5 separate regions of the Homo sapiens genome follow, and all the other regions are linked to region 4. The links are contacts of gene promoters, found by promoter capture Hi-C in human tissues and cell types (Jung and others, 2019). All regions are on one chromosome and are shown on one strand. Each heading gives the region's core, a stretch centred on a gene start or on the middle of the fragment in contact. The rest is flanking DNA. Distances are from core to core; before and after follow the strand shown. Region 1 overlaps MAP3K20 (mitogen-activated protein kinase kinase kinase 20). Region 2 overlaps MAP3K20 (mitogen-activated protein kinase kinase kinase 20). Region 3 overlaps RAPGEF4 (Rap guanine nucleotide exchange factor 4). Region 4 holds the start of SP3 (Sp3 transcription factor). Region 5 has its middle 3.9 kb from the start of CDCA7.

Evidence for each region. The method cuts DNA at HindIII sites, captures the fragments that hold promoters and counts their contacts. A contact is called where the count stands out against the background at its distance.
Region 1: a contact is called between a fragment that was not itself captured here and the fragment with the promoter of SP3 in region 4, in 1 of the 25 tissues and cell types used here (aorta).
Region 2: a contact is called between a fragment that was not itself captured here and the fragment with the promoter of SP3 in region 4, in 1 of the 25 tissues and cell types used here (H1 embryonic stem cells).
Region 3: a fragment that was not itself captured here is called in contact with the fragment with the promoter of SP3 in region 4 in 1 of the 25 tissues and cell types used here (psoas muscle).
Region 5: a contact is called between a fragment that was not itself captured here and the fragment with the promoter of SP3 in region 4, in 1 of the 25 tissues and cell types used here (heart left ventricle).

What each region holds. Positions count from the first base shown.
Region 1 is chr2:173,165,067-173,170,484 of GRCh38, reverse strand. It overlaps MAP3K20 (mitogen-activated protein kinase kinase kinase 20), which reads right to left. Exons shown (of 20, transcript NM_016653.3): 3 at 593-680. Among named protein-coding and RNA genes, the nearest start is that of MAP3K20, 92 kb to the right of the region's middle. The HindIII fragment of the contact is 4,993 bases long and covers 1,636-5,418 here.
Region 2 is chr2:173,185,224-173,190,813 of GRCh38, reverse strand. MAP3K20 (mitogen-activated protein kinase kinase kinase 20) reads right to left here. Exons shown (of 20, transcript NM_016653.3): 5 at 3,191-3,256. Among named protein-coding and RNA genes, the nearest start is that of MAP3K20-AS1, 94 kb to the left of the region's middle. The HindIII fragment of the contact is 5,248 bases long and covers 1-4,052 here.
Region 3 is chr2:172,999,335-173,005,281 of GRCh38, reverse strand. It overlaps RAPGEF4 (Rap guanine nucleotide exchange factor 4), which reads right to left. Exons shown (of 31, transcript NM_007023.4): 17 at 3,938-4,016. Among named protein-coding and RNA genes, the nearest start is that of MAP3K20, 74 kb to the left of the region's middle. The HindIII fragment of the contact is 3,773 bases long and covers 2,174-5,946 here.
Region 4 is chr2:173,961,822-173,967,305 of GRCh38, reverse strand. SP3 (Sp3 transcription factor) reads left to right here and starts at 1,933. Exons shown (of 7, transcript NM_003111.5): 1 at 1,933-2,141; 2 at 2,753-2,901; 3 at 3,423-3,545. The coding sequence starts at 2,135. RefSeq lists silencers at 1,686-1,755, 2,256-2,535, 2,866-3,355, 3,486-3,735 and enhancers at 2,596-3,418, 3,419-4,242. The HindIII fragment of the contact is 28,349 bases long and covers 1-5,484 here.
Region 5 is chr2:173,348,152-173,353,855 of GRCh38, reverse strand. No RefSeq gene overlaps it. Among named protein-coding and RNA genes, the nearest start is that of CDCA7, 3.9 kb to the left of the region's middle. The HindIII fragment of the contact is 3,669 bases long and covers 1,704-5,372 here.

The DNA.
Region 1 (5,418 bases), core at 2,883-5,382, 800 kb after region 4:
TGAAGATATGTGTCTTTCTGTATTTTCATGTGGCAAAACTTTCTATGTGCTGCTTTTTAGAAAGCGTATTTCTGTCAGTTATAAACTGCTGCTCCAAATTATGTGATAATTTAGATCAAGGTCATTACCAACTTAGTTGACCAAACCTGAAAAATATTGTTCTTATGTCAGAGACCTTGAAGAAAGAATGCTCTAATGGGATTAAAATGCCTTGCAAAGAATTACAACATGAATAGCTCAAGAAATCTTAATTTATAAAAGGTCACAGAGTTACAAAAAACATGTTTCATTTCAGCTAATTAAATGAAATTTTAGTTAAACGGCACCTTGAAATATTGGTATTGCAGCTGCGAGTGCATTTAAATAGCATTTACGCAGATATAATTAGCACAATTAAACATGGGTAGAAGTGGAAACACTATTCTTAATTATATTGATATAATCAGTTTTATTAATGCTTTATAGCAACAAAAGTGACATCTGACAGTAACACACAATTCATAACTGAGCCTAATATTAAGCATTTTAGCATATTAAGGAATCTAAAGCTAGGTAATTGGAAAAAGAAAGAAGTCAAACACTGAATTCTTACCTGTGACAATGCCATAGTTGGGAGGTTCAAGAATTACTCCATAAAACTGGATGATGTTTCTGTGACTGAGGACACTGAGTATTTCTGCCTGTACAAAAAATAAAATGCAAAGTTGCATAACATTTCACATTTATAATAGTCAAATAAAACAGGCTTCCTACTCATTTTTTTTTGAGTTAGGGTCTTGCTGTGTTGTCCAGGCTAGAGTACAGTGGTGTGATCTTGGCTCACTGCAGCCTTGGCCTCCTGGGCTCAAGTAATTCTCCTGCCTCAGCCTCCCAAGTAGCTGGGACTACAGGCACACACCACTACACTCAGCTAATTAATTTTTTTTTTTTTTAAGAGATGGGGTCTATGTTGTCCAGGCTGATCTCGAACTCTTGGGCTCAAGCAATCCTCCCACCTTGGCCTCCGAAAGTGCTGGGATTACAGGTGTGAGCTACCATGCCCGGCCTTAGTTTTCTTCTATGTACATTTACAAAGGTATATATGTGCCCAACAAATATGTGATTCTGCTAAAGCTGTCTTTCTTGAAAGTTGAAACATTTCTACTGAAGCTTTCTGAAAATTTAAAAAGAAAATGGGGTTGAAGAAGCGATAAAAGAGGCGCTTGCTAGCAAGCCCACCTGACTGATAATGGAGGAGAATGACTGAAGAGATACCCCATTTATTTACAGTGAAGGTCCTCTTCCTAATAGTCCAATATATATATTTTGCAAAATGTCTGTTCTGAGAGGCTACAGCCAGACTGAACTTCTGTTGGTTAGATGAGTCAATAATAAGTGGGTATTCAGGTAATACCCACTTATTTATCTAATCATTTATGCAAAATATATTATTGTTCTCCTTCTGTATGCAAGGTACTATAAACATATAAAGGTAGATTCTTGACCTTCAGTGGTGATTCGATAGGAGGCCGTATTTATACATTTTGAAACGTGTTAAATATTAGAAAGTGGTACTGAAGAGTGACATGGTAAAAATAAGTTGTATTTATTAAACTTAATTTTTAAAACAAAAAAACCAGATACTATAATATATATCTGCTAATGTCAATAGAAAGATGATCTCTACATAAATCTTATATTCATCAATATTTTATGACTTTTATGGAGATAAAATATGGCTAATCAAGAATTATAAATATGAGGTATAAAATCACGTAAGTTAAATATAGAAAATATTCAGTATTTTTCAATGAAAGGCATATTACTGGCAGTAAGTAGACTGGAGATTTATAAGTCCCCACCCCAGAAAGAGGATCATCAAGAAGAATGTCAGCAGTTAATGAAAATGGAGACACTTTGGTCAGAAAGGGACTCCCCTTTGGGAATGTGTACACTATGAATTAGTGTTATTTGCTAATCAGTTTTTTTCATAGGATAAGAGTTGGGATTTCATTAAAAACAGCTGCGAAACTGGTTTTGAAGGTGGTGTAACTAGGTGGAAAACAAGTTTGAGGGTCGGCATAGGGTCAATATGAAATTGAGATAAAGAATATCATTGATTGCATGAGACGCTTATCAAGCTTGATTTGACAGTGTTTTCTTATAGTAATACATGTGTCAAAGGGGGCTATCGCTGCTTAATCAAACAATTCCTTAATACTTATTGAGTGCCTCGTGTGTATAGAGGGGTCTGTGTTCATCAAGCAACCTTCTTCTCATAGTTTAGTTTCTCAACTAGGAAGAAGATGTATTATTTGTGCAACACAACTATTCATCCACATGGCAACCCTACTTCTTACTATAATAATAAATAATAATAAAGTTTATTTATTATTATTAGAAATAAAGTTTATTTATTATTATTAGAAATAATAAATAAAGTTTTTTGTAAAAATAGAATGTATGTGCAGTTTGGAAATCACAAAGCCCCCATTTTAAGTGGTAGGACCAACTGTTTGTGAATAAAGCATTAAAGTTCAATGTGAGTAAAGCAATAGAGTTAATGTTTGAACCAGTATTTGTCAAACTGAGGCAGTGTTATCCTTCGGAATATTCTTTGGGGCACCTGAATTTTGTGATCATTAAAGATTTTTCTATCAATAAAGAATAAATACAAGTATATTCTGAGTCCTTGGATGACCACTTTACAATGCAGCATGATGGGATTTTCAGTGTGCCAGCTAGTTTCCATGTTTATATTTAAGATATTGCCAAGTGATATCTTGAGGAGATAGGATTGATCATTTCAGGTGCCGGTAAGCATGTCTAACAGCTGTTAGGCTGGCAAATGCTAATGTCAAAATAACAATCATTATCCTCTATCCCCTTGTTGTGCTCATATTTTTTGCAAAAAAATTTGCAGTTTTATTTCCAAGTAAATGACATTTTCATGAAATAAGATTTTAGGTTCTTATATAATAAACTAAGAATCTGATTTAACATAATAAAAACAACATGTTATTTTAGAGTGCTGTACTGATTTCATGGAAATGGGCCAACAGTAAACAGAGGCAGACTGAATAAGTAAGTGATATGTTTGTAATAAATGAAGGTCAAATGACATCATGATGTCAGCAATTCAAATAAGCTCCAATAAAAACAAGTGTGAGGTTAACCAAATTATTAAAACCTGTGTTGTTGCAATCACCCTCTGACAGCAAGCAGATATACTCTCTGGATTTTGCCTTTATAGGCACCTGCTTGCAAGAGCTCATTAAAAAAAAAACTGTTGGCCGGGCGCAGTGGCTCACGCCTGTAATCCCAGCACTTTGGGAGGCCGAGGCGGGTGGATCACGAGGTCAGGAGGTCGAGACCATCCTGGCTAATATGGTGAAACCCCGTCTCTACTAAAAATACAAAAAAAAATTAGCCGGGCGTGGTAGCGGGCGCCTGTAGTCCCAGCTACTCGGGAGGTTGAGGCAGGAGAATGGCGTGAACCCGGGAGGCGGAGCTTGCAGTGAGCCAAGATAGCGCCACTGCAGTCCAGCCTGGGCGAAAGAGCGAGACTCCGTCTCAAAAAAAAAAAAAAAAAAAACAGAAAAACTGTTGCAATAAATGTGTAGTAAATAATTTGTCACTGAATTGCTGTTTTTCCTTTGTTTTCCAGATTTATATTCTGGGATAATCTAGCAAATGAGCTGCGCATCAAAATAATGGATTAGTGGTTTAAAAACGTGTTCACTGTTAAAAGGAAAACATGAAAATGATGAAAGCTAAAATAATGGTCCATCATACAAAAGTATATCTTTTTACACTATTAAAACCAACATAAGCCATTTATTTTCAGTAAATATAATTGGATAACAATCGTTAATTTAAACTGTATTGATTTTATTTTTGTTTAATTGAAAAATTGGTTTTGAATTTACCTGTATATGAGAGTTATAAGGAGTTAATTCTTAGTTTTATGTTTATGTATATTTAAGTTACACAGAAATAATTTCAGTCAACATGTGAAATCTGGAAGACTAAAATTTTCTATATAAAAGATCTACACATTTCTCAGTGTGCAAAATGCTTTTCTAGGGAGTCAAACAGATACTTGGACCCAATGTCCAAAGCAGCATTATTCACAATAAACAAAAGGTAAAAACAACCAAAGTGTTTATCAACTGACAGATAAAATGTGAGGCTATATATAAAAACAATGAAACATTATTTCTGCTGTAAATAGGAATTAAGTTTGGATATGCACTGCATCATGAATGGGCCTTGAAAATATTACGCTAAGTAAAATATGCCAGGCACAAAAGGGCAGATACTGTATGATTCTACTTATATGAACTATCTTGAACAGACACATTCAGCAATAAAGAAAGCAGATTAGAGGTTGTAACCAGGGGCTGATGGGAGGAGAAAATGAGGAGTTATTGCTTAATGGGTACAGCGTTTCTGTTTGGGGTGATGAAAATTTTTGTAAACAGACAGTGGTGATGGGTGCACAACACTGTGACTATAATAAATGCCACTGGCCAGGCACGGGGACTCATGCCTGTAATCCTAGCATTTTGGGAGGCTGAGGCAGGAGAAGAGAAGCACTTGAACTCAGGAGTTTGAGATCAGCTTGGGCAACATAGTGAGACCTTGTCTCTACTAAAAATAAAAAATTAGCCAGGTGTTCTGGCACATGCCTGTGGTCCCAGCTACTCAGGAGGCTGAGGCAGTAGGATGGCTTGAGCCCAGGAGGTCAAAGCTGCAGTGAGTTGTGACTGTGCCACTGCATTCCAGCCTGGGCAACAGAGTGAGACCCTGTCTAAATAAACAAATAAATCCACTGAATTATACACTTAATTACGCTGAAATAGCAAATTTTATGCTATGCATATTTTACCACAATACAAAAGTTTAAAAAATGGTATTCTAAATTTTTGCAGAGATGAGTGATCAGAGTCTATGTATTCAATAGTCATCTTAAAGTTATACAAACTACGGTCTAAGTATCCATAAGATAAACATGTAATTTTCCAAACTAGGACTTGGAGGATCTAAGAAAAGACTGGGACAGACTGCAACAATATATATACATTTTTAGACAGAGTCTCACTCTGTCGCCCAGGCTGGAGTACAGTGGTGCAATCTCCACTCACTGCAACATCTGCATCCCAGGTTCAAGCAATTCTCCTGCCTCAGCCTCCTGAGTACCTGGAATTACAGGCACGCACCACTACACCCAGCTAATTTTTGTATTTTTTTTTTTTCAGTAGAGACAGGGTTTCACCATGTTGGCCAGGCTGGTCTCGAACTCCTGATCTCAGATGATCCACCTGCCTTGGCCTCCCAAAGTGCCAATTTTAACTCAGGCTCTAAGATTCTCCATAAAATAAAGGGCCCCAATCTGAGATATAAACGGAGGAATCAAGGTCTATTCATAAAAATGTC
Region 2 (5,590 bases), core at 179-2,678, 780 kb after region 4:
TATTTCTGTCTTCAATATGGGATTATGAAAGGTGAAATCAATGTATTTACAGCATTGAGGATTTTGCAAAAGGGGGCTGACATTAAAACAAAAACTTAATTCCATTAGGTACTGATTAAAAAGGCTTCTGAGACACTTGTTTTATCCAAATGCAGTACTGTCCAGTAAGAAAGGCACAAATTAGTAGTAGTTAGGAGAACCAAATTTTTACCTGGGTTCTGCCCATGTACTGCCAATGTGATACTGAGGTAGTCATTAGCTTTACTACTTCATATTATATATATGGTTTCCTCCCAACTGAGTGATTTTTGTTAAAGGTGGAGAGAATATTCATTCATTCACTTGTTCATACATTCATTCATTTAATAAATATTTGCTGAGGCTACTGTGGGTAACGCCATGTATAATGCTGTGGAACAGGACTGTAAGCAAGTCTGCCACTGTCTTTGCTCTCAGGGGGTTTATATTCTTATCAGAGAGACAATTAAATAAACATCTACAACAAACTGGGATAGATTCCATGATGAGAGAAACAATACTATAGAGCCAAAGAACAATGATATCTGTGTCGAGGGCGGTCAGATGAAGTTTCCTGTAAGAAATGATGCTTATGCTAAAACCTGAAAAACACAGGAGTTAACCAGGAAGAGGAGAGCTGAGGGAGGAAAGTAGTTTCCTAGGCAGAAGAGAGAGCCTATGCAAAAACTCAGGAGCAGACAAAAAATGTATGGCAATTTTGGAAGGTAGGTGCCAGGTCAAGAAGAGAAAGAGAAAGCCAATGAACAATTTTATGTGGAGGGATGAAATGAGCAAAGGTGCAGAGGGGAGACTATGTCAGAGAAGAATAGACCTGGAGGCAAGGGCATCACTTGGCACTCAAGGTTTTGTGGTCCAGGAGACAGATGAGGACATCTGTACTAAGGCAGTGGCAAAGGACAGGAGAAAAGTTGACCGAGTCAAAAAATATTTAGGATGTAGGATCACCTAGGCTTAATGAATGGCTGGATATTGGGGGAGAAGGAAGCGAACTCAAGGATAAAATCAGATAAAGAAGCAATACAGATTAATGGTTAGAATAGGAGCTCTGGCTTTAAACTGTAACTACTATTTATCTCATTTCTGGCTTGGGCAAACAGTATTGCCACTCAGTAAAAGAAATGCAGGGATGATTTTTCGGGGTTAGGGAGAAAATGAAAAGATTAATTTGGACATAATATATTTTAGTGTCTTAAAAAATATCTATGTGGATGTGTCTAATCAGCAGATAGAAAAATAGTTTTGAAGTTGAGATCTGTTTTTGAGTGTTAATATGTAAATAGGGCTTTTATGGGAGTGCAAGACTCAGAGCATAAGAGGAGATGAGTCCAAGGATAAAGTTCTGAAGAACTGTTTCAGATGTTTCTTTTGTAAACCGTGCAGTGCCTTGAACATGATAGATGATCAATACTTACTAGTTACTGATGATTTTACCAAGGAGGGAAAATGATCTTTGTATGATCTAATATTTGAAAATAGCCTCAGGGTAAACCTGGTACTATAAGTAATAAGCTACAAACTTTTACAAATAGAAATGTAAATATTATTAATTTTATATTCAGCTTTCTCATTATAAGATTAACAAGTGCTCACTAGAAAAACTGCCATTATAAAAATACATAACATAGAAAGTGAAACTCTGGTTACCTTTCCAAGGGAAAAAGAATTGCTATAAGTTAGGTCTATATTCTTTCAATATCAGTGTATGTGTGTTCCTATTTAGTAACTATAATACATATAACTGTAACTTTTTAAAATGGGGACACTCTCCATTGTTATATAGTCTTCATAATGATAGCAGGGAAAAATCCATAATTTAGTTAATCATTCCTCTTTTGTAGAAGATTTAAGATATACTGAAGTCAAATAACATAGTTAAATTGAAATTCTGAGCATGAACTGAAAATTTACAAATTCATAAAACTCTGATCTTTTCTACTACAGCCTAGATTATTTCCTAATGACTTCCTGTTAGCTGACCATATATCAAAAGTGCTTAGTTCCAGGAAGCTTAAGTCTAAGAAGAACCAAAGAATACATGATAACCTAGAAGAGGAAAGGACAATCAGACAGGGTTAAATTGGTGGTCCAACCTGGACTACTGATAAGTGGCAGGTGCTGATAACTTCCCTCCCCGCCCCCATCCCTTCACCCCCTGCTAAACACACACACACTCACACACACAAACCTCACAGTCCTGAGGCACGTGCAAGGGTACCTGATCGATTCATTCCCTGGTTCTCTTCCACTACTTGTCATCACCACCCATTCTAAGGATCACACTATTAGCATATACTCGTTTTAATTAAAGATCTCCTAAAAATAGATAGTTCGCTTCCTCCTTACTGAGAAGGAGCATTTAGAAAGCATGTAAATAATTAATTGATTGGAGGGTATTCAGAAAAGTGGCAAACTCTGATGTTTACTTTAGCTAGTGCTATAATGCTACTGCCTTTCTCAGATAACTCTGAAGTGATGTAACAGAAGAAGCATTCTGTTACCACTCCTACTTGAAGGTAATGTCTAATCCTGCAAGTTATTTTAAAATGCTCACCCTCCAAATTATAAGATACAGGGCCATAAATAAGCTTTAGAAAGTACAGAAGAAGAGAAAGAAGAAAAAGAGAGCCTTTACTTTCCAAACTTCCAATCATGTGGCTCATTTCTGGGCACTACTCCAGGTAATACAGGCATGACTGGCATCAACAATTCACACCACGCAATTCAGATGCAACAAGAACAAAATTCAAAATTGATAGTGCACAAAGCCACCTAAAAATAGAAGACTAAAAATATATGACTGCATACTTTGACACAGCAGTATCTCTTTTAGAAAATGATTCTAGGGAAATAATTAGGGATGTCTTGAAAAATTTGGCTGAAATATTAAGCCCAACATTTCTTATCAGAGAAAAAATGTAAACAATTCAAATGTCCACATTCTGGGCTATATTTATACAGTGAAATACTATGCAGCTTCTTTAAATAATATTGAGATTTTTGTTATTTATTGACAGTAGAAAGGCTTCCATGGTATCAGCAGTGAGTCCAATAGTAGGTTACAAAAGATATGTAAAAGAATGATGCTCATTTCTACATGCAAGTGTATGTAATTTGTAATAAAATAGGTAAAATAAAAACATAACTACATTACCGTTTCTTGACTTGAGGTCTCTGTGAATCACCTTGACAGGAGCCTCCATATGTAAATAATGCATTCCTTTTCACACAAGAAGAAATAAAGGCCTATTAATATTTTTCAACATTACATCAGTATTACCTTTCATAGTTTTTCAAAGAACTCAAGAGCAGAAACTAATTCACATGTCTTATTCTTCCATGACTGATAAAATGAAAACAGAATATGTCTACATTAGTAACATGTATATGTGAAGTCAAATTTATAAGCTTTAATCTCTTAGAGGTTGGAATTTGACTGTGGGTAAATCTAGCTTCTTACAATACCTAATAAGGACACCTTAATTTTCTGCAGTCTGCATGAAAATAGCACAGTAACCACTGAAAGGAGGGCTCCACGACTAAGGTATTCCGCTACCAACTACCTTCTAAATCTGCCAAAGTTCTGAGTAAAATTTGTGGTTTTCATCTGGTTGTCTGCAGGTACCCAACTGCAGATTCTGATGTCCAGTTACCGAAGTTCTGGATGTCTATGGTTACCTGGCTGCAGCTTGGCTTTTTCTCAGTACCCATTCCAACAAGACCTGGGAGTGGATGTGGGGTAGTGGTGGGGAGAACTGGGAGGACTGATTAGTTACGGTTGGTAAATAATTTTATGATCTTCAGATAAAAAAGTATACAGTAGTTACAAAGTATTTCATTCCTTTTACAAGGATAAATCTTTGAGATAATCTGTATTTCAACATACTCCAAAATTCTTTCCATCATATTTATAGAGCTTTATTATTTTGAATATAAAATTATACTTTAAAGACACATTTTATGGTTACCACCTTAGTAGTTTTTGACTCTTTCTGTATTTACGTATTGTCTACCCCTTTAGAATAAAAAAAGGATGATTTTCTACTAAAATATATCCTCTTTATTTCTCAAGTTGTTTTTTCTAACTAATGGCAGAAATAGCCTCCCCCTCACCTCCAAATCAAATAGGCTTCTTTTTAAAATGAACAATGCATTGAAAATAATTTAATAAGAGGCTTAGGCTTTTTAAAGCATATAGAGAGGTTAATTTTTAAATCTTTATTCTTCTATTTTAATTATGATATATTGAAGAATCATGAAAGGACAAAGAAAATTTAAACTCTTGCCTTTTAATGATATCACTGAATGATATCACTGAAGAGTCAAGTTAACACAAGTATTAGTAATTATGTGATCTTAAATAAGATGTAACTGGGATAAAGGAAATTTCTCTTCTGATAAGAAGTTCTACATCCCTCAAACTGCAAAAATTCAATAGTTACAACTTGGGTAGCATTTAATAATCTATATGACTGGATTTCATAGTTACCTCTCTCTTGCTTTAGAATCAAATTCCTGAATAATTTTTCAGGTAGAATCTGTATAATTACTATTACTGGTAGAGATAGTTTCTACACTTGCTGACAAGTAAGGATTTCAAAAAACAAGACTCAAATACAAAAGCTTTAAATATAGGCACTTTCCTTCCTCATGGAAGATTATAAGAAAAAAGTACCATAAAGTATTAGTGTACGATGCATAGTATACATTTAAATAATATTTCATATAAACAATAGTCATCACACACACATAAAATTCTATTTAATGTTTTTGTAGATCCATCTATAATTCTGCCTTATATTTATTGCAAACAATTAAGAAGGCTGAAAAATACTTTCATCAGGTGTACATTCAGGGTTTCCTTAAAAAAAGAATTGGCAGGTGTAACTGAGGAGACTTTTGGGGAGAACTGGAATGAGTGGTGACCATTTTGAAACTGGATTGGAGTTTATCTGCTTTAATTGTTCCTTTTAAGCATTGCTGATTAGCTTGCAGCAATTTCAGATATACTTGCTGGTCCACCCTCCATTATCCTCACATCTAGAAAGAAGAGAATCTTTTTTGTGAGAAGATATTGTCTCAACAGCAATGATGCTGAGCAATGCCTATTTTAAAATGCATGAATCAACCTTTGCTTAAAATATTCATTCTCTGATTTCTCAACATATCATTGCTCCAGTGGATTCAATCATAGGTTAAACTGAAAGGTACATAGCTGAATTTGAAACAGAATCAACAAAAATCAAGGCTTCCTACTTAATCTCTTAAATTCTTAAGTTCTACACCCAGCTTATCAGAGAAAGCTGAAGTCATTCCTAAAGCCTTGATTTTTTTTTTTTAATGGGCCATCTTAAAGGATTTTTAAATGTTAAGTATTACTTGCGTCCATAAACATACAAGCCTCTTCTCTGCCTCACTCTTCTCACCTGAGGTCAAACACATTAGCCAGACAGGCAAAAGGGATTTTATTAATCTGCAGTTTTGGACACCATCAGTGGGTCCAATCCCATTCTCTCCTTCCCTTTTTTTATTTTTTTGAGACAGAGTCTCACTC
Region 3 (5,947 bases), core at 2,811-5,310, 960 kb after region 4:
AGGAGAGTAATTTGGGAATACACATCAGAAGCATTAACATACTACATATTCTTTGCCTATTTTTAGGAATTTAAAGTGTGTACATTTTCATATACATGAGCAAAGATTTAGCTGGAAGGATGCTGATTCACTCCATTGTGTTTGTTATAGCAAAAAAAAAAGAAAAAAACCGTGGAAATAATCTAAATATCCAATAGGTAGAGGCTGAGAAAATAATTATGACATATCTATTAATATAATAGTCATTAAAAATGATAATGTGTCTTTCTCACATATCTTTGCCCCCTTGTTGCCCAGTACTCTATGTGACACATTTCCAGTAGTCAGTAAATGTTTATGGAAACATCTAGAAGAAAAAAAAGATGATGCAGTTTTATCTATATATATATTAGTTTGGAAAGATATTCACAATATACCACCAAGTGAAAAACAGCATATTACCAAAAAGCACATGTAACATTATTTAATTTATATAAAATCTTATGAACATAAAAATGTATATATAAATTCTAAAATTTTAAAAACAAATTTATTAATGGTGGTGAGATGCCAGGTGAACTTTGCTCTCTTCTCCTTTTGTGGTAATTAAAATTTTTTGTAATGAGAATGTTTTATTTTTAAGGATGACAACTATCTATATTTAGAAAAATGGCATAGAAAAATAATGACATAAAAAGATAGTCACAAAATATTGCTTAATTAAAAGGTATACAAAATTATTTACAGTATGATCTCATTCTTACATTTAAAAACATATATCTATATGTATAGAAAAAAAGACTGGAAGGATATACACAAAATGGTTAGCAATAGTACACCTGAGAGGTTATAGGGTTATATACAGGTGGTTTTAATTTTCTTTTGAAGACTAAAGGAAAATTGAACTCAATTTTAAATGCAGATTTAAAAAAGGATTAAAGAACCTGGAGATGAAAAGTATAGAAATTGAACAAATATGATTTTCAAACTCATTATAAAGTACTTGTATTCATCGGGTCAAATCATGTCCAAACTGTGTCTAATGAATAGAGAGTCTCTCTCATTAGCACATAAAAGGCCTGATATATTAATGTTCAGCAGAGTTCTACTATCTTTCTCCATGGTAAAAGCAAAACTGGAAGAGACACACAATGTGGATTAAGAACAGAAATACGTGTCAGTAGCTCAGGGCTCAAATCTTTTCTCTGCTAGTAATTACCTTTCTCTGAGCAATTCATAAGTTTTCATTATTCTAGTTTATTGATTTAGAAAAATAGCAGTAAAAATACTGACTTCTTCATAGGGCTGCTATGAAAAGTTCCAGATGTTAAGCACTTTAAAAATACTCCACTAAAGCAACTGACTAATGAAACATAGTTAAGTATTTTACTATCCCTAATATCCCACGTTAAAAACATAGGGGTTAAACCACTTGTTCAAGTTTGCATTATACATCCCTGTTGCTTGCAGGTGTTCTGTTAAGCAGTTTATGATGCAATATAGTGTCTTGAAATGTTCTTAAACTCTAATTAAAGGTTACAGAATCATTAAAATTTAAACAAGCTTTCAAATAAATAAGTTGTGAAGAGAGAGAGAGAAAAAAAAAAGGCAAACTCCAGGTTTGGAATCATCTGGAGAACTCAGCTATTTGCCCTGGGCAAGCCACTCCTTTTTTGTTTTTTTGTGGGGGCTGGGGGTAACTTCAGGACCCTGATTTGTAACACAAAGCTAATACTAACCCAATAGAATCCTGCCAGGATAGAGTGGTATAATATTGGTCAATGCTCTTAGCATGCACCTGACACAGACAGAGCTGATTCAAAATAGAACAGTGAAGAGAATCTAAGTTCCCACAGGGCCAGATATGAGCCAGGTGGTCTGAGGGACCTAGATAATACAGATTATACCCAGTCACCCTGGATTCCCCCGTCTACAGACAAAAGAAGTCAGATTTGACGTCACAGCTCTTCCACGCCTGTTTGCTTTCTTGCCTTCCCCTCTCCCTGCCCGCCAGTATCATTTTTCCCCCTCCTCCCTACCTGGGCATGGAACGGACCTTCTCTCCAGAGCGCTATTTTAAAAAGAGAAGTTAGTGATTTGAATGTTCTCAGTCAACCCTTGAAGGGGAACAAGCTAATACACGAAGAAGTTAGAATCTGAAAAAAAAAAAGACAAGCGCAGTGTTTGGGGCTTGGACTTGTAAAGATGCCGGGCCTTGGCCCGCTGAACTCGCTGACTCGCCCTTGAGTTTTGTTTGCCTTAGGCTTATCTGCTAAAAAAAACCAAGTCTAAACTCAATGGTGGATTTTATTTTTCCTTCCAGCAAATCTCAAAGGTCTATAATGATTAGTGCGTATGGAGTTAAAAGAGCACAGACATCCTGAATTTGTTCATTTTACTCGAGAAAAATTGAGTATGTGCCAGAAAAAATATATAATGTATGTAAGTCTCATTAAGCCATCATTACTCGGTAAAACAGTTTCCAGGCAAATAAACACACAAATCTCCCTCTTGAAGCTGCCTCTGAGTTGCACCTTCAACTCAAATCTCCTGTCCTCATACATTGTTTACTTCAAAGAGAATTATGAGTGAACAAGAAAATGAGAATCAGGTAGGGTAATTATAATCTTGAATGAGGAAAACATGCCAACATTCACTGAATTCCTAAAAAAAAAAAAAAAGAAAGAATAAAAGAGTCATTCTCCTTCAATATATTTAACTGCTCAAAAGGGCCAAAGTGATTTGGGGTCTAAATTTTTGTTGTTCTAAAAATAAAACAAAATCTTAGAATATACTTTCACATGCTCCCAAAATTGAGTGTGAAGCTTATTAATAATACCCACTTCTTTTATTCCACTCCCATTTTCTGAGAATGTTTGCTCTGTGCTACATACCAGCATCAACTGGGCCATTCCAAACACTGTTGAAAAGCTGTCCCAAATAAACTTGGCCTTCAAGCTATAGAGAGGAATTGTCACTGGAGTTTCAAATTTTGGGTCTTTAAGTCAGTAAGATGATAATAAAAAGTAGTAACAAAGAAAGAAATTTTGGTATCTAGAGGAGAGGATAGACGAGGATGAATGGGAAAAGAAAGTTATCCTACAGTGATAACTTGTATTTATCTCAGCAGCTTAGCAATTTAATACCATAGCTCGGAGGAGGAACACAAGCCGACCACAGTCCACCCTGCCAGGGAACAGTCTGTCTCTGAGGTTAGGGAACCATTCCTGCTAATACTCCCAGGTTCTTCTCCATAACCCTTTCTAGCCTGCCTCCCAGGCAATGGATTTTTTTTTTTTTTTTTTTTTTGCCAGCATCACCTTCCTGTGGTAAGCTGGTTCACACTTCTCTGCACAGATAATGGTACAGTTTGGATGTTTGTCCCTGCCCATATCTCATGTTGAAATGTAATCCTCAATGCTGGAGGTGGGCCTGGTGGGAGGTGTTTGGTTCATGGGGGTGGACCCCTCGTGTCTTGGTGCTGTCCTTGAGATAGTGAATTCTCATGAGATCTGGTCGTTTAAAAGTGTTTGCCACCTCCCCCACCTCGCTCCTGCTCCCCCTTCACCTTCAGCCACAATTGTAACTTCCCCAAGTCCTCCCCAGAAACAGAGGCTGGCACGATACTTCCTAGCAGAACTGCCAGTCAATTAAACCTCTTTTCTTATAAATTACCCAGCCTCGGGTATTTCTTTATAGCAATGAAAGAATGGCCCAATACAGGTAACAAGGAGGAAATCCTTAAACATGGCACAGCAGACCTCTGCCAGGCAGAGCTAGAGTCTGTACAGGGGAAAACTGTGGGAAATGTGGGAAAACACATTTCAGTGTGATGAGGGTGGAATGCACAACTCTGCCTGGGCCATGACTTACCTGCAGAAGATGAGATAAGAATGGCCCTCGATAGGGGGGGTTGTCTTCGAGGGAATAGGGACTTACAATCACAATAAAAGGATATTGGGCCACCAGTGCCGGGCAAAGCTGGGTATTTGGCATAAAAACACAGTGCATCATAATAAAGTCATTTAAAACAGAATCTGGAAGGGGAAAAAAACAGAAAAGGAAATTAGGTTCTTGTGGAAATCTTTAGGAAAGCAAGAGTATCCATTCACTTGTTCTTAGTCATTGGTTCTAACACATTGGTTTGGGGCATGAGTTTACTTTACATGGAAGCACTTCATATAAATAATGGTGTTGACAGAGATTGAGATGAAAATCAGTTTCTTATGACAATGGACAAAAAGTATAATATTTTAAAGAGAGACAGCCTTGTACAAACGGCACTGGGTACCTTAGCCACCAAAGATTTTAAAATCTGTGTACTTAAAGGGTCACATGTGGGCAGTACCATACATGCAGAACGAAGACATGGTCGTTTCTTTGTCTATACCGTATTTGTTTTTTCAAAATCCTTTCTCTTTTATGTCTTTTTCACCTCCTATTTCCAAAAGAAGCAATGAAAGGTAGGAGGACAATAGAATTACAGAATCAGGACGTGGTAAGAGCAGAGAATTGGTGAGGGGAGAAAGAAGCAGCAAAAAAAAAAAAAAAAGAAAGAAAGAAAAGAAAGAAAGAAAACAAGATTAAGGCTGTGAGCAGCAACTAGAGCAAAACAAAGGCTAACAAAACAGAAGCTGGTGGATTCAAATGGTGACTGTCCTATATGTGAAACTATTTTGTAGGTAAGGAAGCAGGGGGTTGGCAAGGGAAGTAAGGCAGGTCCCCCAAATAAGCTTCATTTACTTCATCATTGAATTTGATGCTGGTTCTTCATTGCAGACAACATGCCCTGGCTAGCCAGATGGGAAAGCTCATGAAGGCAAACCTAAAAACCTCAGGACTATGCCCATCAGAACTTGGAACCCAAGATGCCATGACATTTCCCGGGAAAACATGAAATACACTGTCTGAGATTGTGACGCTCATCTTAAATGGAAAATGGTGAGAAATACGTACATTTTAATGCTATAAATTAGATTGCCAAATGTTGTCCATGTTTTTAATGAAATTTTATTGGTGAAGTCTGAGTCAGTTACTAAAGGTTTAACCATTATACATAGTCATTTAAATATAACTGATGAGTGTAATACCAAGCTGTCACAACTCAATGTCACCAGGTCTTCAGTCCCGTTATACTGAGCCAGAGAAGAAGCAGAGAAGGTGTCAGACAGAGGCTGCAAGAAAATATTTTTTTTAATGTACCAAAGGATTTTGGCTTGCCTGAGCTTAACATCTAGCACCATCTTGATATGTTTTATATATTCTTGAGAACAGAGTAGGTAATACTTGCTTATATGCACCCAGGAGGCTGTAATATCCAGTAGTTTAAAGTTTGCTAAAGCAGAGACTTGACTTGGGTGCTCCAAGGCTGGGGAGGGAGTCAGTTAACATGGCCAACCACTCAGCTCACATTTCAGTGTGGCTTTCCGGCTCTCTCCTCACATGTAGCAACTCTTCTGTCTGGCACCTTCTCTGCTTCTCAGTATAATGAGACTGAAGGTGACTGGTGACACTGAGTGATGACAGCTTGGGATTACACTCATCACTTATATTTAAATGAGAATCATGGTTAAACATTTAGTCACTGATTCAGACTTTGCCAATGTAAGTTCATCAAAAACATGAACACTGGAAATCTAATTTATAGGTTAAAATTTGCTTAAGAACTAATTTAAAACATCACTTCCTACTAGAAGATGATTTACCAAGTCACTCCATGACTAATGCTGGTTTTAAAAGTAAAAATATAAGAACTAATAGGTCTCAGGTAGAAAACAGATTTTTGGTAAATTAAGAGAGTGTAATGTCAAATTCAGCAGTGTGCATTTTTATGATGTAAACAACTTTCACGGTAACTCTGACCTTTCTTACTGTACTGTAAATCTATAACTGCCAAAGGTCTCCTACTCTGGTATATCCACAAATTTCGTGGACCTACCCTAGGATTATTTAGTGTCCAGGACAGGAG
Region 4 (5,484 bases), core at 684-3,183:
GCTCTCAAGGTGGCTGGACTAACACTTTGCAAAAAGGGTATGGCGATAGCGTAGAACATATCCCCACTCCTGAAAAAAAAAACAAAACAAAACTGAAAATGCCTGAAATATCCTTTCTAGGGAAAGAGCTACCTTCCACCCAAGAGATCCGGGTAGGAACAGAGTGATAATAGTGACTTCCCTTCCTCCCTCCCAGTCCACTTATTTTCACCTGTCCCGCTCTTCAAGGCACCCATCTCTTTTTCCATTTTCCCCACCCCAAATCAGGTTATTTTGTGACTTTTATTTCCTTAAAAGTTTTTGTTGTAAAATAGTACATAGGTTATACGACTCAACTTTGAAAGTGACTTTTCCACTTAAATATGAGACTACAAGGACTATTAGAAGAGATGAACCCTATTCTTGGACTCAGAATTTTGAGTCTCGTTTCCGCATGTTTGTGGTTTTTAGGTTAATTCCCTGGAAATTTGATCTTTGTACAATTAAGAGCAAAGTAACCATACAATGTTTCTGATCCTGTCAGCATAGGCGGTTAAGTGCTTTGGAACTGGGATGTAAACTCAGTATCTCACAAATGGATTACCTATTAAGTTAGGACACACAAAATCTGGTTAAAGTGCTTGGACTTCACAACCTCATCCACCAGCACATCACATATCACACAAAATATAATAATCACAGTAATGGGAAAACTGAATCTTGAGCCAGATTTCTAAAAAACAGGTATTGTGGACAGTGTTTCCACCTCTTGAATTTAACTTCTTTCTTGGCAACTATACTTGAAGGTAACAGGGAGAGATGTCTCTTAGTTGGCAAAACACACACTTAAAACCTGAGCATTTTCCCCCAGGATGACAGCAAGATACCAAGGATGCCAAAGAAGGAAGGAGTGTTAACCTAATCCAGTAAGAGAAACAAGATTTTAAAATACAACAAAAATGTTCCAATGGGGGAAAAAAGGTAGTTCACCGGTTCACGACTTTAAAAAACGTTGGCAGTGGTTGATGGGCTTATTTCAGGAGATATCTGACTTGGTACCAAGAGGATAAAGAGGCCGGGAATAATACGTTTGTGCAGCAAAATGGTTATGTGACCGATTTTTTAAAACACAGAATTCTGCCCCACTGAATACATACACATACCACAAGTAAAATGAAATATACTTTTAAGTGCCCGTTTTGGTGCCACTGGCCAAAATTAAAACTCTCCTTCCGTATGTGAGGTGACTTGAGATTTCTTTTTTGCTTTAAATGCCTGCCTTCAGGGTACGTGAAAGTGGGAGACCGGTTGGAAAACTGGGGCTAAGGGGGCTGGGAGCGAGATGGCTGTGACTGAATCAGGAAGCTGGATGTGAGAGAGAAAAATCCTCCTCCAGCCTCGGAGGGGGTGTCTCCCCTAATACCAGCTCCCTCCCCCCGGGCTCGTGGGGCGGGTCTGGTTTGCTCAGTAGCGGCAGCGGCCGCAGCAGCAGCCCCGGGGCTGAGCAGCGGTGGCCTCCTGGCAGCGCAGGGAAGCGGCGGCTCCAAGAGCGCGAGGCCCTGGGGAGATCCGGCCAAGACTGCTGCCGGGATGGAGGAAGCGTCCAGTGGAGCAGGAGTCACCGGGGACGAATTTCCTCCCCAGCTCAGCTCCCCTACAGCTTGGCTAGGCCTGCTCCGAGCGCCTGCAAGGTGGAGGAGGCCTGCGCCTCGGGCCTGGCAGCGGCAGCCGGCGAGGGAGGCGGGCACAGCGGGGTAACCGGCGAGCCGTAGCCGCTCTCGAAAACCTACGCTGCCACGGCCGCTCATTGTCTCTCCCCTTCCACCCGGGGGCAAACAGGAAGCGCGCCGCCTGGCAGACCGACGGACAGGCGCCTGGACCAATGAGCACAGCCGACAAAGAGCACGGCGGCGAATGAGAGCCAAGAAGAGGGGCGGGAGTTCCGGGCGGGCTGTCACCCTCTTCCCCCCTTTTGGGCTGGAGGCTCCACCTTTTGTGTTTCCCGCACAGTCAATCAAAATAGGAAAAAAAAATCCCCGGACCGCTCCGGCCGTGTCCGCCGCCGCTTCCCGCATCCTCTCCCGCCGCCGCCGCCTTCGCTCCTCACCATGTGTAAGGCGGCGGGGAGCCCCGCCTGAGGTGCCCTAAACACACTATGACCGGTACGTAAAGCCGAGAGAGCAACCCTTGCTGCTGCCGCCGCCGCCGCTGCCGCCGACCACAGCCAGCCCGGGGCCGCTGCCGCCGGTCTCGGCCCCGTGTGTGCGACCGAGTGTCTGTGAGAGGCAGAAAGCTGCACTCCCCTGCGCCTCCCTCCCCTCCCCGCCAGCCACCGTCCACCCCCGAAGCCCCAGCAACGCCGTCTCCCCGCCAGGCCCCGGGGCGGGCGGCCCGGTCCGCCGGGAGCGCATCCCCCTGTGTGCGGGCGCGGGCGGGCGTGTGTGAGTGACTGACGGTGCGAGAGGAGCGAGCGCGAGTGAGAGCGAGCGGCGCGAAGGGAAAGGGGAGGAGAGGAGAGGGGGCAGGGGCAGCGCGGGGAGGAGGAGGAGGAGGGAAAGAGGAGGAGGAGGAGGGTTACAGGCAGCGGCGGGCGGGGGCAGCAGCAGGAGGGGAGGAGGGAGCCGCCGCCGCCGCCGCCGCCGGGGGGCGGGTGGGGGAGGGGAAGGGGCCTGGGTCCGGGCTTTGGGAGTAATTTCGCTTCGGCCCGCGGGCCCCCTCCCTCTCCGCCACCCGCCTTCCTCCCCACCCCCACCCCCCCGCGCTGTGCCTGCAGCTCCCGAAAAGCCCGTGAAACAAGAGGAAATGGCTGCCTTGGACGTGGATAGCGGCGGCGGCGGTGGCGGCGGCGGCGGCCACGGCGAGTATCTGCAGCAGCAGCAACAGCACGGAAACGGTGCGGTGGCGGCGGCAGCGGCGGCCCAGGTGAGGAGCGGCTGAACCCCGGCCCGGCTCCCCCCTCGCGCCGCTTTCTCCTCCCCTCGCCTCTCCCCTCCCTCCTCGCCTCACCCCTCCCTCCTCGTCTCTCCCCTCCCCTCCACTCCCCTCCCCCCGCCCCGGGAGCTGCCCGCCCGAGGCGCCAACGCTCCGACCCCGCCCGCGCCGCCCCGCCTCGCCCGCCTGCCGCCTTTTTGTGCGCGTGTGAGTGTGGGCCCCAGCGTGCCCTCCCGGGGGTGGGTTCCGGGCGGAAGGCGGAGGCCCGGCGCGCAGCCCGCCGCCCGCCTGCCCGCGGACCGGGGAGCCGGGGTGCTTGGAGCGGGGGACGCCAGGCGTGGGCTGGCGGCGGGACCAGGAGGAGGAGGAGGAGGAGGAGGAGAGCGCGGGCTGGCGCTTGCCCGGGCGCAGTCGGCGGGGACCGAGTCGTACTTCCTGTGCGAAAGGCGGCCCGACCCTAACCGCCACCCCCTCCCCCTGTCTCCCTCTCTGAACCCGCCCATTGGGGGTAGGACACTCAGCCGTCACCGCTCGCTCTGCTGGCCGCTACCTGCAGCAAGATAGGGCCGCCATCGCCGGGCGACGACGAGGAGGAGGCGGCCGCCGCAGCCGGGGCCCCCGCCGCCGCCGGAGCGGTAAGTCCCGCGCGCGGCCCGCCCCCGCCGAGGCCGGGCGCCCGCCATCCCGGACCCGTGGCGCGCCTGCCCAAAAGGCCTCCCCGGCGCCCGCGCTTCCCCCGACCCGCACGGGCCGCTGGGCTCCAGGGCGCCCTTTCCTGCTCTTTCGCATCCCGGTTTGGATCTGAAGCCAGCCCAGGCTTTCTCGAAATTGTCACTGCAGCACCTCGCGCAAAATCTTCACAAAATGAAGTCTGAGAGGGCGGGGGTAGAGGACTCCAAAATGGATGTTTGAGCAATTCATATCAGTGCTGAAAACTCCTTCGCTTAACACTACAAAATTTTCAAGCACAGCCTATCGGCCATAGATAGTATCAACTAGAGGCAATGTCTTTAGTTTTTATTATTTTTGAACCTGGAGCATTTTCTGTTGGACGTTACAGGATCTTACTGCTTTAAATCATACATTATTAAAAAAAATGAGGGTTTATTCTTTGAATTACCCTTTTGTATGCAGGAGTGAAGACTGCTTTTTTAGTTGACCATTCAAAATCGTTGAATTTTAGTTTTTGCAGACTACTAAAATTTGCAGTGACTTTTTTTTTGTAAGGGGGGTAAATGAAACATTTAGCAGCCTTTGAAATCAGCAAGTTGCTTAGATAGTACTTTAGATTTTGAAACTGAATATAACAGTGTTAGAAAAGTATGTGTAAGGAATTGTATTTACGTGCATACTAGTAGTACAATACTTATAGCTGAATTTGGTTGGCAAAAGTATGTTTTCATTTTATTACGACTGCTAGTCAGGTAAGATATGGTGGGATTCTTTCTGTAGTGTTTTCAGTGTCTGGGCAAGGGGAGGAGCTCGCCTGTGTTATATGAGGGGTTAATACCAATAGGATAGGAACAGTTTTTAGACTGTTAATTGTGAATTTTACATTTGGGTCATCACTGTTGTGTAGATTTGTTCACCTATTAAAATAATGAAAACCCTCATTTGAGTGTGTGTGTGTGGTGGATCATAGGAATTGATTTGTGGAGTGATACTTTCAATAGTCACTGAAGACAGAAGTTTGGTATTTGGTATAGTCTACAACAAATGCTTAGTATGTCCAGGTATTTTTTTTTTTTAAGTTAAACCAATGTTAAGCTATTACTGGTAAATAATTTGTAATTTTAGTGCTTCGTTATAGGGGATGTGAATAGTTTTAATGTCTTGTTTTTTCATAAGCAGATTAACATGTAAAAATGTAAAATTATATTAGGCTTTGTTATTTTTAAATACATTTATGGATTGGTACGCCTTCTGTTCACCTCATTTCAGCTTCGCTGAGAGTTGGTAGATTTTTTTATGAACTGTATCCCTCTAGTTCCAAAGTGCCAAAACAAATTGACTGTATCTTAAAAAACTACTGCATAAGTAAAATTAAAAAGCAGATTGCTTCTCCTGATCTTTTTTGTATTTCAAATGGAACAAAACTTTTCTTGTAACTGTAATTTGTAAAGTTTAGATATCAGTTTACAGATGGGGGAGGGGAGAAGGAAGGAAATATGGGTGAATAATATGTGTATGTACATACATATGTGAGTCTGAGGCCCAAGGATAGAATACTGTCTCCAACCTTAGCCAGCTGTGGCCATATACTTGTAGGGAAGTTTCCATGCTTCTTCAGCTGCTTTTCTGAATTACCAAATCACTCCTGACAACACATATTCTGCCACATGAAGACGAACTAGAATCAATCTGATAAATCTGAGATTTATCAATCAAATACATCATAATTTGCCAATCATAGTAAAATGAAAATAGTTTTGCCTAAAAAAAAAAAAAAAAAAAAAAAAACCCAAACCATATATTTATGATGTCTGGTACCTGCACCCAAGATTTTTCACTTTGAGTAAAATTGGTAAGACTGGCTTGTGTGTATTTGCCTTAGCAAATAGAAAATTTGCTAAA
Region 5 (5,704 bases), core at 2,289-4,788, 620 kb after region 4:
AGTGCATGGACATACTGTGTTCCTCTCTTGGTGTACTGAATACAAAAACTGTGAGCAAGTAAATAATGCCCGAGGACAATGGATTGGAAGGAGTCTTCCAGCCTTTCTTAAATATACCTACCCAGTAATCACTCTGCCACTGTGCAAGGGACAAAGAGCTCAAGGTCTAGAAGGTGAGTGCCAGGAGGAGAGGCTATCGGTGGGTGGTGAAATTACGGAATTACAGGGCCCTCAGTAAGTATTTGTTGAATGAATAAACATTTGGGAATATAATTTTGTGCCACTAAAGCTAAATATATGAAAATTTGGAATTACTAGATCCATGAAGCAGGGGAAGATTAAGTCACTTTGCCTGTGAAAGGTTCTGATAGGGAAATTTTTAGTCTTCCTGGGAGCACAAGAAAATAATTTGGTGTATGTGTTTTTTAAGGATAAGATCTCTGGTCTATTCGTCTTTTTAGTAATCAGGAAAATGCAAATTAAAACAAGTGTCACTGGAAAGGGGTCCCGATCTAGACCCCAAGAGAGGGTTCTTGGATCTTGCACAAGAAAGAATTCAGGGCAAGTCCGTAAAGTGAAAAAGCAAGTTTATTAAGAAAGTAAAGGAATAAAAGAATGGCTACACCGTAGATAGAGCAGCCCGAGGGCTGCTGGTTGCCCATTTTTATGGTTATTTCTTGATTGTATGCTAAACAAGGGGTGGATTATTCATGGCTCCCCTTTTTAGGCCATATAGGGTAGCTTCCTGATGTTGCCATGGCATTTGTAAACTGTCATGGCGCTGGTGGGAGTGTAGCAGTGAAGACAACCAGAGGTCACTCTCCTCGCCATCTTGGTTTTGGCTGGCTTCTTTACTGCAGCCTGTTTTATCAGCAAGGTCTTTATGACCTGTGTCGTGTGCTGACCTCCTACCTCTTCCTGTAACATAGAATGCCTTAACCTCCTGGGAATGCAGCCCAGCAGGTCTCAAGGCTTATTTTGCCCAGCTCCTATTCAAGATGGAGTTGCTGTAGTTCAAATGCCTCTGACACAGGAGATACAATTTCACTCAGACTGGCAAAATTTAAAGCGCCTGATAAGACCAGATATTGTTAAGAATATGAGAAACTCCCACAATGATGTTAGTAGTGTAAATTTTTAACTTTGCAGAGCAATTTGGGAATAGAGGCGTACCTCATTTTATTGCACTATGCTTAAAATTAAAGGTTTGTGGCAACCCTAAGTATAGCAAGCTTATCAGTGCCATTTTTCCAAAAGCGCATGTTCATTTAGTGTCTCTGTGTAACGTTTTGGTAATTCTTGCAATATTTCACCTTTTTCATTATTTTTATATCCATAATGGTGATCTGCAATCTGATCTTTGCTATTACTGTTGTAATAATTTTGGAGAGTCACAAATTGTACCCATATAAGATGGCAGACTTCATCAATAAATGTTGTATGTGTTCTGATTGCTCCACTGACCAACCATCCTGTCTCTCTATCCTCATGCCCCCCTATTCACTGAGATAGAACAATATTGAAATTAGGCCAGTTAATAACTCCACAATGGTCTCTGAGTATTGAAATGAAAAGAAGAGTCACATATCTCTCACTTTAAATCAAAAGCTAGAAATGATTACACTTAGTGAGGAAGGCATGTTGAAAGCCGAGATAAGAAGAAAGCTAGACGTCTTGTGCCAAACAACCAAGTTGTGAATGCAAAGGAAAAGTTCCTGAAGGAAATTAAAAGTGCTACTCCAAAGAACACACGAACGATAAGAAAGCAAAACAGGCTTATTGCTGATAGGGAGAAAATTTAAGTGGTCTGGAGAGAAGATCAAACCAGCCACAACATTCCCTTAAGCTAAAACCTAATCTACAGTAAAGCCCTAACTCTCTTCAAACTCTGTGAAGGCTGAGAGAGATGAGGAAACTGCAGAAGAAAAGTTGAAAGCTAGCAGAGGTCAATTCACAAGGTTTAAGATTCACAAGGTTTAAGAGAAAAAGCCATCTCTATTACATGAAAGTACAAGGTGAAGTAGCAAATTATTCAGAAAACCTAGCTAAGCTAATTAATGAAGGTGGCTACACTAAACAAAAGATATTCAAAGTAAACAAAACAGCTTTCTGTTGGAAGAAGATGCCATCCAGGACTTTTATAGCTAGAGAGAAGTCAATGTCTGGCTTTAAAGCTTCAAAGGACAGCCTGACTCTCTTGTTAGGGATGAATGCAGCTGGTAACCTTAAATTGAAGCCATTGATCATTTACCATTCCACGTTCTTAATTCCTTAAGAATTATGCGACACCTATTCTGCCTGTGTTCTATAAACAGAACAACAAAGCCTGAATGAGAGCACATCTGTTTACAGCGTAGTTTGCTGAATATTTTAAGCCCACTCTTGAGACCTGCTCGGAAGAAAAGATTCTTTTCAAAATATTACTGCTCATTGACAGTGCCCCTATTCACCCAAGAGCTCTAATGGAGATTGATGAATGTTTTCATGCCTGGTAACACAGCATCCATTCTGCAGTCCGTGGACCAGGGAGTAATTTTGACTTTAAAGTCTTATTATTTAAGAAATACATTTCATGGCTGGGCACGGTGGCTCATGCCTGTAATCCCAACACTTTGGTAGGCTGAGATGGGCAGATCATGAGGTCAGGAGATGGAGCAAGTAAATAATGCCTGAGGACATGGGCATCCTGGCTAATATGGTGAAACCTTGTCTCCACTAAAAATACAAAAAATTAGCAGGGTGTGGTGGTGGGCGCCTGTAGTCCCAGCTACTCGGGAGGCTGAGGCAGGAGAATGGCGTGAACCCAGAAGGCAGAGCTCGCAGCAAGCCAAGATTGCACCACTGCACTGCAGCCTGGGCAACAGAGTGAGACTCCGTCTCAAAAAAAAAAAAAAAAAAAGAAATACATTTCATAAGTCTGTAGCTGCCATAGATAGTGATTCCTCTGATGGATCTGAACAGAGTCCATTGAAAACCTTCTGAAACGGATTCATCATTCTACATACTATTGAGAAATTTGTGATTCCAGGAGTTTACATTCTAGTAGGAGAGCAGAAGTAAACAACAACAAAAAAATAGTTTCAGGTGTGCTAACTTCCGTGAAGAAAAATAAAAGCAAGGTGAAAGCTAAAGACAGGACAAGGGGAGAGAAAATGAAAGAGGTACAAATTTAAATAAGAGAAACAGAAAAGGCTTCTCTGAGAAGGTGACACCTGAGGAGGAACATGAACAAAGTCAGGAAGGAAGCTACAGGAAGAAGAGGAAAGTGCTGGTTTCAGGCACAGTACACAGCTGGCCCAAAGGCTGTAAGGCAGTGCACAGCAAGGCACACTACAGAAAGCCAGGCAAAGAGGGAGAGAGCCCAGATCATGTGGGACCTTCTTGGCCATGGGAAGAACTTTGGATTTATTCCAGATATGATGGGAAGTCATTGAAGGATTCTGAGAAAAAGAAAGACCCAATCCGACCCCATGAACTGTGTGGGTCGTAAACTGAAGGAGAGCCAAGAGTGAAAGCTGGGAGACCTATGGGCTCCTGGAGAAGCAAATGATGGCTTGGACTGGGATAGTTGTGGGGTCAGATGAAGTCAGATTTAAGATATATGATTATTATAAAAGTTAGAGCTAACTGGACTTGAGGGATGGATGGTTCATTCATATTAGCATTATGTATCATAGTAAAATACTGCAGTCAACATGCCCCTCAGAAGGGAAATGGATACATGAACAGTGGTGTATTTGTACAATGGAATCTGAACAGTAGTTCAAATTAATGGCATAGCTTACTGGCATCATTGTAGAGAAATCTTAACAGTGTTCAATGAAAAAGCAAATAGTAAAAGTGTCTGTAAAGTGTACCCTTTATGCAAATTTTAGAAACACAAAACATACCTAAGTTGGGAGAGTATAAAAACCTAGACAAGCAGAATAGCACAGAAATTAACTTAAGGTGGAAAAGATGGAGGAAAGAGGCAAGGGTGGGTCCTTTGATTCTATTATTAATGCTTTCTTCTTTTCTTTTTCTTTTTTTTTTTTTAAAAAAAGGCTGGGTCTTGCTATGTTGCCCAGGCTGGAGTGCAGTGGTGTGATCATAGCACATTACAGCCTCCAACTTCTGGCCTCAAGTGATCCTCCCACTTCAGCCTCCCACATAGCTGGGACTATGGGTGTACATAACTGCACCCAGCTATCATTAATGCTGTTAAATTAAGTTTAGCCTAAAGCCGCCTCCTTACATATTTTAAGTTCAGCCTAAAGCTTCTCCATACACAATGAACTGTAACCCAACTGGGTATATAAACAGACTAACTTACTCTTGTACCAACCACCATGTTTTGGCCAGTCAAGGGTGACCAACTGTTCAAGCTGTGTTCAAATAAGGCAAACCCTGAGCTGTAACCAATCCAGCTGTTGGTGTAATTCACTTCTGTTTTCTGTACCTCACTTTTTCTGTCCATAAATCTTTTTCCACCATGCAGCTGCTCTGGAGCCTCTCTGAACCTACTCTGGTTCAGGGGATCCCCGATTTGCAAACATTCTTTGCTCCATTAAACTGCTAAATTTAATTTGTCTAAGGTCAGTGCTTTAACAATGCTTTCTTGAAAAATAAAAACCATGGGAAGCAAATATGGCAAATTGTTAAATGTGACAAATGCCAGTGATTAGTACATGGGTGTCTTTTACATGTTTACTTTCTGTGCTTTTTTTTTTCTTTTTTTTTTTTAATCTGAAACATTTAATAATTTTAAAATATTTAAGTTTTGGAGAGTTTGTTCTGACAATCAATATCAATATATTTATTGTGTTAAATATACAGTTCCTTTACAGGGTCCTATAAATAGGAATGCAAGTTTGTCATGCAATTTTAGATGCCTCATAAAGGTTTTAAGTCACTGTATTAATCACACACTGGTAAATATTTTCATTTTAAATGAAAGACACAAAATGAATAAGCATGGAAAATCAGTGTCCAGGGAAAGATGATGGCACAGGCCACAGCAAAAGGTAAAAGGAAATGACATTTTATAAGTACATACTTACACAGACACTACTTGATATGAGGGCTGTTAATACAACAGGTACTCAGTAAATACTTATTATATTTATAAGTATTATTTGTATAATTTAATTTAATTATTTTTTAAGTTCCAGGGTAAATGTGCAGGATGTGATGTGCAGGTTTGTTACACAGGAAAATCTGTGCCATGGGTGGTTTGCTGCACCTAGCAACCCATCACCTAAGTATTAAGTCCTGCATGCATTAGCTATTTTTCCAACTAAAGTGGTTGTAGGTGGAATTTTATTTTATTTTTACATTTTTTCTTTTTTGAGACAGGGTCTCACTCTCACTCAGGCTGGAGTGCAGTGCTCAAGCCATGGCTCACTGCAGCCTCAACTTCCTGCGCTCCAGCAATCCACCTACATCAGCCTCCCAAGTAGCTGGGGCCACAGATGTAGGCCACCACATCTGGCTAATTTTTCTATTTTTTGTAGAGATGGGGGTTTCGTCATGTTGCTCAGACTGGTCTCGAACTCCTGGGCTCAAGCAATCCGCCTGCCCTGGCCCCTCAAAGTGCTGGGATTACAAGCATGAGCCACCATCCCCAGCCCTGGAATTTTAAATCTTCAAAATATTCTAAAATATCAATCTCTTGTTAAAGAGCTTTGAATTCCCTGGGCTACTACAAACCCTAAGAATTCTGTGT